Linked DNA regions of Homo sapiens: regions 2, 3, 4 and 5 are each linked to region 1. Evidence: promoter capture Hi-C in 16 types of primary human blood cells and fetal thymus (Javierre and others, 2016). All regions are on one chromosome and are shown on one strand. Each heading gives the region's core, a stretch centred on a gene start or on the middle of the fragment in contact. The rest is flanking DNA. Distances are from core to core; before and after follow the strand shown. Region 1 holds the start of CELA1 (chymotrypsin like elastase 1). Region 2 holds the start of DIP2B (disco interacting protein 2 homolog B). Region 3 holds the start of ATF1 (activating transcription factor 1). Region 4 overlaps ATF1 (activating transcription factor 1). Region 5 overlaps ATF1 (activating transcription factor 1).

Region 1 (2,808 bases), core at 170-2,669:
AACCCAAGGGTCCTCTGCCCACCTCAAGGCACATTGCAACTCTTTTCTCTCTCTATTTATTTATTTATTTATTTATTTATTTATTTATTTATTTATTTATTTTGAGACAGAGTCTTGCTCTGTCTCCAGGCTGGAGTGCAGCAACCTCCGCTTCCCAGGTTGAAGCGATTCTCCTGCCTCAGCCTCCAGATTAGCTGGGACTGCAGAAGCGCACCACCATGCCCAGCTAATTTTTGTATTTTGTTTTTGTTTTTTTTTAGATGGAGTCTCGCTCTGTCGCCCAGGTTGGAGTGCAGTGGCGCGATCTCGGCTCACTGCAAGCTCCGCCTCCCGGGCTCACGCCATTCTCCTGCCTGCGCCTCCCGAGGAGCTGGGACTACAGGCGCCTGCCACCACGCCCAGCTAATTTTTTGTATTTTTTTAGTAGAGACGGGGTTTCACTGTGTTAGCCAGAGTAGTCTCAATCTCCTGACCTCGTGATCCGCCCGCCTCCGACTCCCAAAGTGCTGGGATTACAGGCATGAGCCACCGCGCCCGGCCAATTTTTGTATTTTTAGTAGACGGGGTTTCGCCATGTTGGCCAGGATGGTCTCGATCTCTTGATCTTGTGATCCGCCCGCCTCAGCCTCCCAAAGTGCTGGGATTACAGGCGTAAACCACCGCGCCCGGCCGCAACTCCCTTCTCTCTCCTCTACGAACTGTGATGAACAAAGCCTTTCATCTCCTGCAGGAACCTCGGCTCCTACCCTCGTTCTCCCTCTGCCCTCCACCCTCCATCTACCCTCATAGCCCTCAGACTGTCTTCACATCCCAAGGATCCCCTCCTCTACCCTGCCTCATATTCTCCTCTGGGAGCCCCTTCTTGGCTCTCCATCTGAGAGGGCCCAAGCCTGTTTCTCAGTACTTTCCTCCCCCAGAATTATCTCCACTGCATCTATTTGGCTTTTGTGTCTGCATTTACACCTATGCCTGCATCCTGGGGGCATGTGCCATCTCCCTCTTTGGGCAGAGAGAGTTGCTGTGTCTTCCTTGCCCTTGCTAACCACTCCCCCCTCTTCCACTATCCCCCTGGCCTCCAGCTGCTAGTGCACAGGGCAAGTCTCTGCATTTATGGTGCCACTGAGGACAACGAGAGAGTGATGGATGACAAGGGGTGCTCCCTTAGAGAAAAACCAGCCCTGGTTCTCCATCTTATTTCTGAAAAAGAGTTTGTTGGATGCTTTTCAATTAAAAGCAGATGATTAATTCAGCCCTGGCCTTGTTCTGTCTTTGAATAACAGATACATTAGTTTACTTGAAAAGAAATATTTTCATTTGTATTTCCATGTCACTTGTGATTTTCCCTGCCTTGCACCCTCAGCCCTGCCAGTTGGCAAGAAGACAGTCAGCTTTGCTGCTAAGAGGAGTATAAAGAGGGCTTGGTCCAAGCAAGAAGGCAGTGGTCTACTCCATCGGCAACATGCTGGTCCTTTATGGTAAGTGGATATGGTCCAGTCGCAACCCTGGTCCTTTATGGTAAGTGGATCATGTGGCCTGAGGTCTATAGGGAGGGGGACTTGGGCAGGAAGGTCAGCAAATTTTCCCTAAGTCCAGGCCAGCACCCTGTCCCAGGGCAGGTGGGACGCTCTGCCTGCAGAGCGTCCTTTACTCTCCTGGAGGCCAAGATAGAAAAGGTCAGGGCCACTGGCTATTCAGGCCCCTCTGGGTGGCAGGTCCCTGGGCCACAAAGCAGAGAGAAGCCCCATCTGGTAGTGGGGTGGGTCCCTGGGCTTCCCCACCACCCCCATTGACAGGAGGACTTCCTCAGCAGGTGCCTGGCTGGGGTGTGCACTGCAGGCCCTGAACCCTGGAGAATCTTGCCAAAGCATTAGGGGGCTGGTGGGGGTCAAAGAGTGGGGGGGGGTCTCTTCAGGCCAAAGGGTGATCTTGAGCAAAGAGGAGACCACAAGGAGCCTCTGGGGCCTAGCCTGGTGGTTTGAGAGAGGTCCTTCATAGCATGCCGGAGTTCTGGGAACACCTGGGGGAAACAGAAGGCACCCAGGCACCCCTGTTTTCAAAAGGGGCTCAGAGAACTCACAGCTGGGCCCCTCATTCGTTAGAGAGGAACTGTGAATTTGCAGACAAGGCTAACATTCCTCAAAGCACAATCGCCACCCCCCACCCCTACCCCTGGCTGACCCCATGCTTAGTCATCACTCACTTTTCTTCTGCCCCACAAAGGACACAGCACCCAGGACCTTCCGGAAACCAATGCCCGCGTAGTCGGAGGGACTGAGGCCGGGAGGAATTCCTGGCCCTCTCAGGTGGGTGTTCCTTCCCAGCCCCAGACTTCCACCCAAATAAGAGCTCAGTGCATGACATAAGGTATCATGTGTATTTGTGCATGTCCCTATCAACAAGCAGCTCTCCAATTGTCTAGGTTCTCGATTTTAAAGATGGATGGGATCAGGCTTAGGTGGTTTTCTAAATGCAAAAGGCTTGGAGGAGGGGATTTATACACCAACCACAGTCCCTCTTCAAGGCACACACCCAAACACAAGATACATTTATATTCTCAGCGACAGCACTTGTGCCACGCAAGAAAGACTGGGTGCCAGACAGTCACCTTGGACTCCACATACCTTGAAACTCACACGCACACCACTCCACACTGTGTGTGTCACAATGCTTGCACGCATGTGCGCGCACACACACACACACACACGTACAGCATGCTGCTTAGTTGGCTATTTAGAGTTTCCACTTTGCTAACAGGGCAGCTGGGCCCTGATTTAAGTGATCTAAATATGTAAACCTGGCAAATTAACT
Region 2 (2,808 bases), core at 127-2,626, 840 kb after region 1:
GCTCCTGGGAGTTGGTCACATTCTTCTTTTCCAATCAAGAGTTTTTGATCCACTTGAAAAATGCTAGTGAAGAGGGCCTTCCACAAGGAACTCAGTAAGAATATGCAACTCTGGAGACACAATCAAAGTACTGGTATCAAGCTTGGAGAAAATGCTGCTTTTGTCTCAGGGGCAGCCAGTGATAAAAACAGGAACTTTACACAGAACTGATCACAACTGCCCCAGAAGCCTGATCACATGCCCACAACGGAGCACTGTGTTTCTCTCATTGTTGTACAAGGAGTTCTCTAATAACAGTGGCTTGATTTATCCCATTTTTTTTTTTTAATTCTGAAAATAAATCGAACCCTCCCTGTCCCAATCCATTGTCAAAAGAAAGAATGCCAGCCAGGATTTGCAAGTAAACGGTAGCCTCCTCTCCTTCCTTCATCAAAGACTCCAAAAGGTGACCAGATGCGGAAAATTCGGCCCGAATAACAGGCACCAGGAAAAAAAAAAACTTCTTATGACAAAGGTGGTCTAAAAGCAGCACCGTGTGTCTCTCTGGGTTAATGCCATTGCTTCTTATCTTCCTAGGACCCTAAATGGCTCACCCGCTTGTGTCTCACTCCTGTCACTGGGGAGGCATCGCGCATTGTTAAAGGAAAGAGAAGAAATGATGCTGCGGATTTCCCATGTGTCTCTTTTTGAAAGGGGGAAGGGGGGGCTGGAACAAGGCGTGGAGCCCTCCACGAAAAGGGGAGAGGAAAGGAGAAAGCTGTCAGCCACCCTCCTCGCAGCCCTACCCCTCACCCCACCTGGGCCAGACGCCTGGGCAGAAGCGGGAGGGCGCAGCTTTGTCTCGGGTTTTGGGGGGCAGGAAGCGCAGAAGCAGTGTGGGCCCGGGAGGACCTTTCCACAAGCCCTTACTTAGTCCCCTCCATGGGAAAACAATGAAAGCCACAGGAAACCACTTAATGGGGTGGGAGAGGAGGGAAAACGGTCGTGGAGCGCCAGGCCAGGTTCTCTACACCCTCGTCCCCCTCGCCGCACGGCCGCCAGAGCGCGCGGCGGGGACCTGTCTCCCAAGTCGCCGCGATCCGCAGGGCCCCGGGCGCCCTCTCCCCGGCCCGGCTCCTACCCTCCGAGAGCTCCAGCTCCAGCTCCGCCAGCTGCGCCCGCACTTCAGGCGGCAGCGCCGCCACCGCGGCCGGCGACGGCTCCAGGCCTCGTTCCGCCATCCCAGCTCCGCCAGCCACACTCCGGAAGACAAGAGAGGGGGCCGAAGGAGGGACGGACAGACACGGGCCCACACCCGGCTACAGGATCCGGCTCCGGCCGCCGAGCACCACCAGCACCGCCGCCGCCGCCGCCGCCGCCATGAGCAAAGGTCACGTGAGCGCGACGGCCCCCGCCCCCCGGCCAGGAGGACGCACCGCCTCTCCAGCCCAGTCAGGCTGAAGACGCATATGCTTACGGCGCCCTCTACTGGGAAGCTACCAGAACGACGGGCCCAAGCCCACCACTCGAATTTCCCTGCGCGAAATGGGCTCATGGTATGGACTGTCGGCTTTACCACAGTAGTGTGGACACATAGCATTTACCTTTCACTCTCGAGCAAGTTTTTAGGGGTCCCAGGCCTTACTTTTTCCAATACTAGACTTAGCAATGTATGTCTATCGTGTCCTTTACTCCATTTTCCCTGATTAATACCTGCCCATTTATAAAAACCTAATCACAGGCCACCTCCTTCGCTGTGGCTCCTGGTCCTATCTGCCAGGAGCTCTGTTTCCGTTTCAGTTTTAGCTTTTAAAAAGACAGGCGCGGTGGCTCTCGCCTGTAATCCTAGCACTTTGGGAGGCTGAGGCTGGTGGATCACCTGAGGTTAAGAGTACCAGGCTAGCCGACCGGGCGCGGTGGCTCACGCCTGTAATCCCAGCACTTTGGGAGGCCGAGACGGGTGGATCACGAAGTCAGGAGATCGAGACCATCCTGGCTGACACGGTGAAACCCCGTCTCTACTAAAAGTACAAAAAATTAGCCGGGCGTGGTGGCGGGCGCCTGTAGTCCCAGCTACTCGGGAGGCTGAGGCAGGAGAATGGCGTGAACCCGGGAGGCGGAGCTTGCAGTGAGCCAAGATCACGCCACTGCACTCCAGCCTGAGCGTGAGCGCGAGACTCCGACTCAAAAAAAAAAAAAAAAGAGTACTAGGCCAGCCTGGCCAACATGGTGAAACCCCGTCTCCAATAAAAATACAAAAATTAGCCGGGCGTGGTGGCGGATGCCTGTACTCCTAGCTACTCAAGAGGCTGAGGCAGGAGAATCACTTGAACCCAGGAGGCAGAGGTTACAGTAAGCTGAGATCGCGTCATTGCACTCCAGCCCGGGCAAGAGAGCAAACACTCCGTCTAAAGAAAAGAAAAAGACAATAGAGAGCAGGTCCACTTCTTTCTTTCTATACTTCTAACTACTTACAAGGAGGGAACTTACTTTAACTCATCCTCCTCACTCTGTGGCCTAATAGGTGTTCCAAAAACATTAATTTTAATTTAATATGAAGAGGGTCCAAGGCTAGGTGCAGTGGCTCACACCTATGATCCCAGCACTTTGGGAGGCCAAGGTGGGCGGATCACCTGAGGTCAAGAGTTCGAGACCAGCCTGGCCAACATGGCGAAACCCCGTCTCTACTAAAAACACAAAAATTAGCCGGGAGTAGTGGCACATGCCTGTAATCCCAGCTACCTGGGGGAGCTGAGGTAGGAACGTCGCTTGAACCCGGGAGGCCAAGGTTACAGTGAGCTGAGAACATGGCGGCTGCGCTCCAGCCTG
Region 3 (2,808 bases), core at 87-2,586, 580 kb after region 1:
GGAATGGACAGATAGCTCACAGACCAAACCTAACCCTAAAAGATAACGGCAAGTATTAAAGAGCTAATACATTCGACTTTAGGGCAACAGTATTGATTCTAATTAAGACACGGAGATAACTGCATATGATAAACTCCAAGAAAAAAGAGCATTTTAGAAGAACGCATTTCTGTTAACAAAAACCTCAGGTTAAAATGCATTCTGAGACATAAATGCCTACGAACTCATCACAGGTGAGGCCAGTTTGACAAAGATGCCTGCCAGATCCACGCCGAGCTTCTGAACCCTAAAGGTTCTCAAAGACTACCAGTTGCCCAATCTCTTCAAAACACTAGCGCCACAACCAGACATTATTTCACATTGCAATCATTTCAAAGCGATTCAGCCGCCAGCTGCACGGCGTCGATCAAAGTGAGAAATGCCAGGCTTCGTTTTTTGACATACAAGATCAAAGAGAAAGTCACCCTCGGCTGGGTCGCCCATCCCAAAGGGTACAGACGCCCTTGTGTCATTCCTAGCCAGGGGTAAAGCCGCCTACTGTCCCCACTCTGTCTCCGCTGCCAGGCGCATCTCTCCAGGACTGTCTGGGGCGTGCGCAATGCCCGTGCGTCGGTTGCCCGCTAGACTGCAAGCTCCAGGAGGGTAAGGGGCGCGCCTCTTCCCTCAGGGTCGCCAGCGCCGACGCGCTTCGAGGACCCTGTCGCGGGGTTAACCAGACCCGGGCTCCGCTCGGCGGACACCGCGCCGAGGCCATATCCGCGCCGCCCTCCGCCCGGCTCCGGGCCCAACCTCGAGACCTCCCACGGAGAGCTAGCGCCTGCGACTGCAAAGGGCGGCTTCTGAGGCGAAAGCCACCCCGCGGCGGGCGGTTTCGGGCTTTACTTTTATTTGGGGGCGAGGGAAAGGAGGAGACGCACGACTGGAAGGGCGCAGCGCAGCTCTGCACCGAGGCGCGGAGGCCGGAAGCGCGGGCGGCCCCTCCCCCTGCCGCTGCGCCCCTCCCCCACCGCCACCACCGCGCGCGACCCCCACCAGGCGCGCGACCCGCGCTGCGTCCCCGCCGGCGCCACGTTCCCGCGTCCTTCCCCGCCCGGGCCACGGGGCACGTCCCTCCCCGCCCCCCACTTACCTGTGGCTGCCGCCTCGCCGCTCTCCGGGGCGGGAACTTCCACTCCCCCCTCCCAGGTAGATCCGAATTCACTACCCACTTCCCCACCCCCTCACGCAGCGGGGGACAAGCCTCCTTCTCGGGGGTCAGGCGGGGCGGGGAGAATCAGTGTCACTTAACAGCCAACTGTCCTAAGCTACCGTTTCCTCGGCAGTCAGGGCCGCTACTGGCGGCATGATCTACACAAGCCTGGGGGCGGGGGCGGGGGCGGGGGAGGGGAGGGGGGCAAAACTGAGCACTAGTGTGCGTTTGGGGTAGGCTATGGCGCTGCCTCCGCGCGGGCCGCCGTCCTGCGTCACCGCGCTGCCCACGTGACGCGCCGCCATCTTGTACGCGGTCCTGACTTGTGGCTAGGGGTTCCTCGGAACGCGTTCCTCAGGCTGCAGCGGGAGAGGGACGGTGCCTGCGGTTCCGTTTCTCCTTAGGAGCTGTACCCCACCCGCCCTACGTCCGCTTCCGGAGGCCATGAGCAGCTGGGTGCTCGCGGGGGGCGTTTTCATCGATTAGTGGCGGCGCTGTCAACTCACCTGCCAATTGACCTTGACCGACGCCGGCCCTGTCCTCTTGGAAGGAGAAATGAAGAGTGAAGGCTTTGACTTCCTCAGCTTTTTTTTTTTTTTTTTTTTTTTAGATGGAGTCTCTTTTTTTTTTCCGAGATTGAGACGGGGGTCTGTGGCCCAGGCTGTAGTGCAGTGGTTCGATCTCGACTCACTGCAGCCTCCAACCCCGGGATTCAAGCGATTCTCCAACCTCAGCCTATGGGGCAGCTGGGACCACAGGCGCGCGCTACCACGCTCGGCTTGAAGAGATGAGGACTCTATGTTGCTCAGGCTGGTCTTGAACTCCTGGGCTCAAGTGATCCTCCGCCTCGGCCTCTCAAAGTTCTGGGATTACAGGCGTGAGCCACCGTGCCCGGCCTTACTCAGATTTTTCTTAATCCCATAAAGTAACAATGAGTTGTGTCCTTTAACCCATGTGGAAGGATTTTCTACAGAAACGGATTTACAATGAGACATAACGATGTGGCCGGGCGCGGTGGCTCATGCCTGTAATCCCAGCACTTTGGGAGGCCCAGGAGGGCGGATCACCTGAGATCGGGAGTTCGAAACCAGCCTGACCAACATGGAGAAACCCCGTCTCTACTAAAAAATACAAAAGTAGCCGGGTGTGGTGGCGAATGCCTGTAATCCAAGCTACTTGGGAGGCTGAGGCAGGAGAATCGCTTGAACCCGGGAGGCGGAGGTTGCGGTGAGCCGAGATCGCACCGTTGCACTCCAGCCTGGGCAACAAGAGCAAAACTGTCTCAAAAAAAAAGAAAAAAGAAACGTAACAGAGTGTTAATAAAATGTTATGCCGTCATTTTAATGCATTACAAAAACTTCAGAATATTTTTGGGTCTACCTCTCTGGAAGGGAGTTATGCCTTATTCTTAATTTTTAAAATTTCCTTGTAAAATGCTGTTTTATGGCTTTAATGATAGTAAACGACAAAAGATAAACTTTTTTAGTATGCTCTTGACAAAAGTTCCGAAAGTTTTCTGAAATTTTACTAGTTTGAGATCCCCAATTTAGGAAACCGATTTAGTGGAGAGAGCTTTGCCTATTTTTGGCCCTTTGGGTCGGAGAATGTGATATAAAGCC
Region 4 (2,808 bases), core at 97-2,596, 570 kb after region 1:
GATCGCACCACTGCACTCCAGTCTGGGCGACAGAGCAAGACTCCGTCTCAAAAAAAAAAAAAAAAAAAAGGCTGGCCACAGTGGCTCACACCTATAATCCCAGCACTTTGGGATGCTGAGGATCACTTGAGCCCAGGAGTTTGACACCAGCCTGGGCAACATAGTGAGACTCTGTCTCTACTAAAAAAAAAAAAAAAAAAAAGGCCGGGTGTGGTGGCTCAGGCCTGTAATCCTAGCACTTTGGAAGGCTGAGGCGGGTGGATCACGAGGTCAGGAGATCAAGACCATCCTGGCTAACACGATGAAACCCTGTCTCTAGTAAAAATACAAAAAATTAGCCGGGCGTGGTGGCGGGCGCCTGTAGTCCCAGCTACTCGGGAGGCTGAGGCAGGAGAATGGCGTGAACCTGGAAGGCGGAGGTTGCAGTGAGCCGAGATCGCGCCACTGCACTCCAGCCTGGGCGACAGAGCGAGACACTGTCTCAAAAAACAAACAAACAAATAAACAAACAAACAAAAAAAACAGAAAAAGAAAACAGCTGAAATCTCTTATCTGATTCTACATTAATTATGTTATCATACATTGTTTTGGTTGAATTATATGAAGAAAATCTGCCCTCACATAGATATGCAATTAGAAAAGATGTGTAGTGTTTTAAAAGCCTTTTCATTTCATTGTATTCTTTGATACAGCAGCAAAACTCAGCAAGTTATAGTTTCTTAAAGGTTATTTGCCATGTACAGTCTGAACTTTGTGTATTGTTAACATTAAAATCCGTTAGTCTCATCTTGCACTTTAAATGGCTCTTACACTCATGCATGATTTTTTTTTTTTTTTTTTTGGAGATAGGGTCTCACTCTGTCACCCAGGCTGGAGTGCAGTGGCATGATTATAGCTCACTGCTGCCTTGAACTCCTGGGCTCAAACAATCCTCCTGCTTCAGCCAAGTAGCTGTTACTACAGGTGTTGTAGTGCCACCACACCCAGCTAATTTTTAAAATTTTTTGGCCGGGCACGGTGGCTCACGCCTGTAATCCCAGCATTTTGGGAGGCTGAGGTGGGTGGATCACCTGAGGTCAGGAGTTTGAGACCAGTCTGGCCAACAGGTGAAACCCCGTCTCTACCAAAAATACAAAAAATTAGCTGGGTGTGGTGGTGGGCGCCTGTAATCCCAGCTACTCGGGAGGCTGAAGCAGGAGAATCGTTTGAACCCGGGAGGCGGAGGTTGTAGTGACCCGAGATCGTACCACTGCACTCCAGCCTGAGCGACAGAGCGAAACCCTGCCTTGAAAAACAAAAACAAAAACAAAGAAAACAACTCTAAATACAGTTAGGCCTCTTTATTCATGGGTTCTGCATCCATGAGTTTCACATCTGTGGATTCAACCAACCACAGATTGAAAATATTCAGGAAAAAAAATTTCTCTATACTGAACATGTACCGACTGTTTTTCTTGTCATATAGTATAACTATTCACATAGCATTTACATAGTATTAGGTATTAAAAGTAATCTAGAAATGATTTAAAGTATACAGGAAAATATGTAGGTTATATATAAATACCATGCCGTTTTCTATCAGGGGCTTTAAGCATCACAGATCTTGGTATCTGTGGACGTCCTGGAACCAGTCTCCCACAGATACTGAGAGATGACTATATACTTCGTTTAAAAGAAAATAAAACTAAATGATCTTGACAAGATATTTAAAGTCCACCTTCTTTTCTTATATTTTAACATTTTATACAGTCTTTTTTGCTTGTTTTTCTATTTTATTTTTTATTTATTTATTTTTATGATATGGAGTCTCGTTCTATTGCCCAGGCTGGAGTGCAGTGGCATAGTCTGTGCTCACTGCAACCTCCACCTCCCAGGCTCAAGCGATTCTCCTGCCTCAGCCTCCCGAGCAGCTGGGATTACAGGCAACCGCCACTGCACCTGGCTAATTTTTGATTTTTATTAGAGACAGGGTTTCGCCATGTTGGTCAGGCTAGTCTTGAACTCTTGACCTCGTGATCCGCCCGCCCTGACTTCCCAAAGTGCTAGGATTACAGGCGTGAGCCACTGCGCCTGGCCTTTGCTTGTTTTGTTTTTTTTTTTTTTTAACATTAATGCCAGGTCTGGTGGCTCACACCTGTAATCCCAGCATTTTGGGAGGCCAAGGTGGGTGGGTTACCTGCGGTCAGGAGTTCGAGACCAGCCTGGCCAACATGGTAAAACCCCATCTCTACTAAAAATACAAAAAATAGCCAGGCGTGGTGGCAGATGCCTGTAGTCCCAGCTACTTGGGAGGCTGCGGTAGGAGAATTGTTTGAACCCAGGAGGTGGAGGTTGCAGTGAGCCGAGATCATGCCACTGCACTCCAGCCTGGGCAACTAGAGCAAAAATCTGCCTCGAAAAAAAAAACCCAAAAAACAAAAACCAAAATAAAACACATTAATAATCAGTCTGAAACGAGATTAATCTGCATATAAAATATTCCTAACAAGCTCAGTATTTTGGCCAGTCCCTCCCTTACCTGTTGAGCAATATGAGAAATGTGAGCTCCCTGAACTGCTGAACCAGGTTGAGGTGCTGTCTCTGACGTGGTACTCTTGTGGGAATCTTCCATAATCAACTATAAGGGGGAAAAAAGTCCGTTAAAATTAAATATGATACAGAATGTTTACAGTATACTATAGAATCATATAAAAATTGATCATTTAGTTGCCTCAATGGAAAAGAACTGGTAGCAATGGTATAGAGATAGAAAGGGGACTGTGCATTTTCTTTAAATTTTTTGAATTTTGGCCCACAAAAACATGTTTA
Region 5 (2,808 bases), core at 214-2,713, 530 kb after region 1:
TATAGAAATCGGAAGTATTGGCCAGGCATGGTGGCTCATGCCTGTAATCCCAGCACTTTAAGAGGCCAAGGCGGGCAGATCACCTGAGGTCAGGAGTTCGAGACCAGCCTGGCCAACATGGCAAAACCTCATCTCTACTAAAAATACAAAAATTAGCTGTGGTGGCACATGCCTGTAATCCCAGCTACTTGGGAGTCTGACCCAGGAGGATCACTTGAAGCTGGGAGGTGGAGGTTGCAGTGAGCCAAGATCGCGCCACTGCACTCCACCCTGGGCAACAGAGCAAGACTCTGTCTCAGAAAAAGAAAGAAAGAAAGAAACAGTACTATTTTAAGATTTTTATGCTATATATGTAGATACTATTTGCAACTTGCTTTTTAGTACACATCTTTAAAAGGACTGTACAAAATCTTTCCCCTCACAAAAAGACTTTATTTTTACCTTTAAGCTCTGTTTGTTTGTTTGTTTTAAGTGGTTTCCAGTAAACATTCTTTTTCTTTTTTCTTCTTTTGTTTTGAGACAGGGTCTCACTCTGTCAACCAGGCTGAGTGCAGTGGCACAATCACAGCTCATTGCAACCTTGACCTCCTGGACTCAAGATATCCCCACTTCAGCCTCTCAAGTAGCTGGGACTACAGGTGTACACCACCACACCAGCTAATTTTATTTTTGTAGAGATGAGGTCTCAGTATGTTGCCTAGGCTGGTCTCACTCCTGGTCACGGTGTCGGGATTATGGGCATGAGCCACCCACTCAGCCTCCATTCTTTACGTGTATTTCTACACATGTATTTCTTGAAGGATCACAAGCTATATTCACTTAAAGTCAAGAGATAGTGCCAATTTATATTCATTGAAGTACAGAGAAATAAGGGGGGAAAAAAGGAAGGAAAAAAATCCCAGAGTCAAACCAGAAAGAAAAAAGGGAAAAAATGCCAGAATGTCCTCCAGAGTATTTGTACCATTTACATTCCCAGGGGCAGTACATGAGAGTGCCTGTTATGAACATTTTAAAATGGTTGTCAGTCTAGCGGCTGACAAAAAGCGAACCTCACTGCTTTAACATTTCCCTCATTATGCACAAAGTTTGGAATAATTTCATGTTTACAAGGCCATCTTTCACAGACCGGTTTCCTTCTGTTAGGTCTCTTATTTACAGAAATAAATCTTTATATAACCTATACATCTCGTAATTCTTTCTCTTTATATAAAAGTTGCAAATATTTTTCCCAGTTAACAGACTTATTTTTAAGTTTCTTTATGGTATCTTTTGTCACATACAAGTAGAAATGTTGGGGCAAGTAGATACCATAAAACTCCGTACTTCCCTCAGTAATGTATGTGAGGTACCCTTTTCCTTATATGCCCAATGACAGACAGTATTACCACTTTATAATTTTTGCTACGTGACATCTCATTTCTTATTTTTATAGTTGTAGTATATACGTATATGACCCTAAAACTGCTATCATTTATTTTCTAAAATTATAAAATATCATACTTTGTGTATTCTGTTGCAACTTGTTTTTTCATTCAATTTTTCTAAGATTTATTCATGTTGAAATGATTATTCATTCAGTCATTACAAATAAACATTCCATTCTATAAATACAGTCACAATTTATGTACCTATTCTTTTTTCCCCCCATTTTTATGTTTAGGCTCAATATGTACCTATTCTGTTATCAATGAATCTTGAGGTTGTTTCCTGATTTTTTGCTGCTATGAAAATTCTTATACATACTTCCTCCAAGTTCCTCTCAGTCACACAGACTAAAACAGCTGGGTCACAGAGTATACCCACGTCAACTGTACAAGATAAGGCCTAATTTCCAAAATGGCTGCATCAATTTACACTCCTATAGTAGTATCTATGAATTCCTGACCATTGTTCCAAATCCTTGCCAACTCTTGGTTAGACTTTAAAATTTTTGCCAATTGGGTGGGTATAAAGGGTATCTAAATGTGTAGCATTAATGTGTATTTCTTTGATTACTAATAAGGCTGAGTAGTCTTTTATATGATTATTAACTACTTGTGTGTTTTTTTTTGTTTGTTTTATTTTTGAGACAAGAGTCTTGCTCTGTTGCCCAGGCTGAAGTACAATGGCGTGATCATGGCTCACTGCAACCTCTGCCTCCAGGTTCAAGTGATTCTCCTGCCTCTACCACATCTAGCTAATGTTTTAAATTTTTTTTAGAGATGGGGTCTCCCTATATTGCCCAGGCTGGTCTCAAACTCCTGGGCTCAAGTGATCCTCCTGCCTTGGCCTCCGAAAATGCTGGGATTACACGTGTGAGCCACCACGCCTGGCCTGTATGGTTTTTTCCATTAAAATGTTTCTGTGCATATTTATGGAGCACATGAGAAAATCTGTTACATGTATATAATGTGTAGCGATCAAGTCAGGGGATTCAGGGTGTCCATCACCTGAGTATTAATAGGTTTTTGTTAAGGGTGGTCATCCTACTCTGCTATGAAACACTGAATTTATTCCTTTTATCTTACTGTGTATGGGTTTGTACCCTTTAACTCTCTTCATCCTCCTCCTTGCCCCTCACCGTTCCCAGTCTCTGTTACCTATTTTTCCATTCTCTCTTTTTTCTTGAGATAGGGTCTTGCTCTGTTGCCCAGGCTGAAGTGCAGTGGTGCGATCATGCTGCCTCAACCCCCTGGGCTCAAGCAATCCTCCCACCTCAGCCTCCCGAGTAGCTGGGATTTTAGGCACACGCCACCATGCCTGGCTAATTTTTTATCTTTTGTAGCAATGGGTATGTTGCCCAGGCTTGCATTGAACTCCTAGGCTCAA

The links. Contacts are between HindIII fragments. The CHiCAGO score rates a contact against its expected background, and 5 or more counts as called.
Region 2: a contact is called between the fragment with the promoter of DIP2B here and the fragment with the promoter of CELA1 in region 1, in 1 of 17 cell types (fetal thymus). The highest score is 6.0, in fetal thymus.
Region 3: the fragment with the promoter of ATF1 here is called in contact with the fragment with the promoter of CELA1 in region 1 in 8 of 17 cell types (neutrophils, endothelial precursors, fetal thymus and 5 more); the score reaches 11.1 in neutrophils.
Region 4: a contact is called between a fragment that was not itself captured here and the fragment with the promoter of CELA1 in region 1, in 2 of 17 cell types (M2 macrophages and activated CD4 T cells). The highest score is 5.8, in M2 macrophages.
Region 5: a fragment that was not itself captured here is called in contact with the fragment with the promoter of CELA1 in region 1 in 6 of 17 cell types (activated CD4 T cells, total CD4 T cells, total B cells and 3 more); the score reaches 7.6 in activated CD4 T cells.

What each region holds. Positions count from the first base shown.
Region 1 is chr12:51,345,290-51,348,097 of GRCh38, reverse strand. CELA1 (chymotrypsin like elastase 1) reads left to right here and starts at 1,419. Exons shown (of 8, transcript NM_001971.6): 1 at 1,419-1,475; 2 at 2,221-2,303. The coding sequence starts at 1,460. The HindIII fragment of the contact is 4,543 bases long and covers 1-2,808 here.
Region 2 is chr12:50,503,553-50,506,360 of GRCh38, reverse strand. It overlaps DIP2B (disco interacting protein 2 homolog B), which reads right to left and starts at 1,376. Exons shown (of 38, transcript NM_173602.3): 1 at 1,121-1,376. The coding sequence starts at 1,220. RefSeq lists a silencer at 964-1,073. The HindIII fragment of the contact is 3,121 bases long and covers 144-2,808 here.
Region 3 is chr12:50,762,629-50,765,436 of GRCh38, reverse strand. It overlaps ATF1 (activating transcription factor 1), which reads right to left and starts at 1,336. Exons shown (of 7, transcript NM_005171.5): 1 at 1,130-1,336. RefSeq lists an enhancer at 473-572 and silencers at 993-1,082, 1,303-1,382. The HindIII fragment of the contact is 10,692 bases long and covers 1-2,808 here.
Region 4 is chr12:50,779,949-50,782,756 of GRCh38, reverse strand. ATF1 (activating transcription factor 1) reads right to left here. Exons shown (of 7, transcript NM_005171.5): 2 at 2,519-2,617. The coding sequence starts at 2,611. Among named protein-coding and RNA genes, the nearest start is that of ATF1, 17 kb to the right of the region's middle. The HindIII fragment of the contact is 3,767 bases long and covers 1-2,808 here.
Region 5 is chr12:50,816,117-50,818,924 of GRCh38, reverse strand. The region is part of intron 6 of ATF1 (activating transcription factor 1); the gene reads right to left. Among named protein-coding and RNA genes, the nearest start is that of TMPRSS12, 25 kb to the left of the region's middle. The HindIII fragment of the contact is 4,813 bases long and covers 1-2,808 here.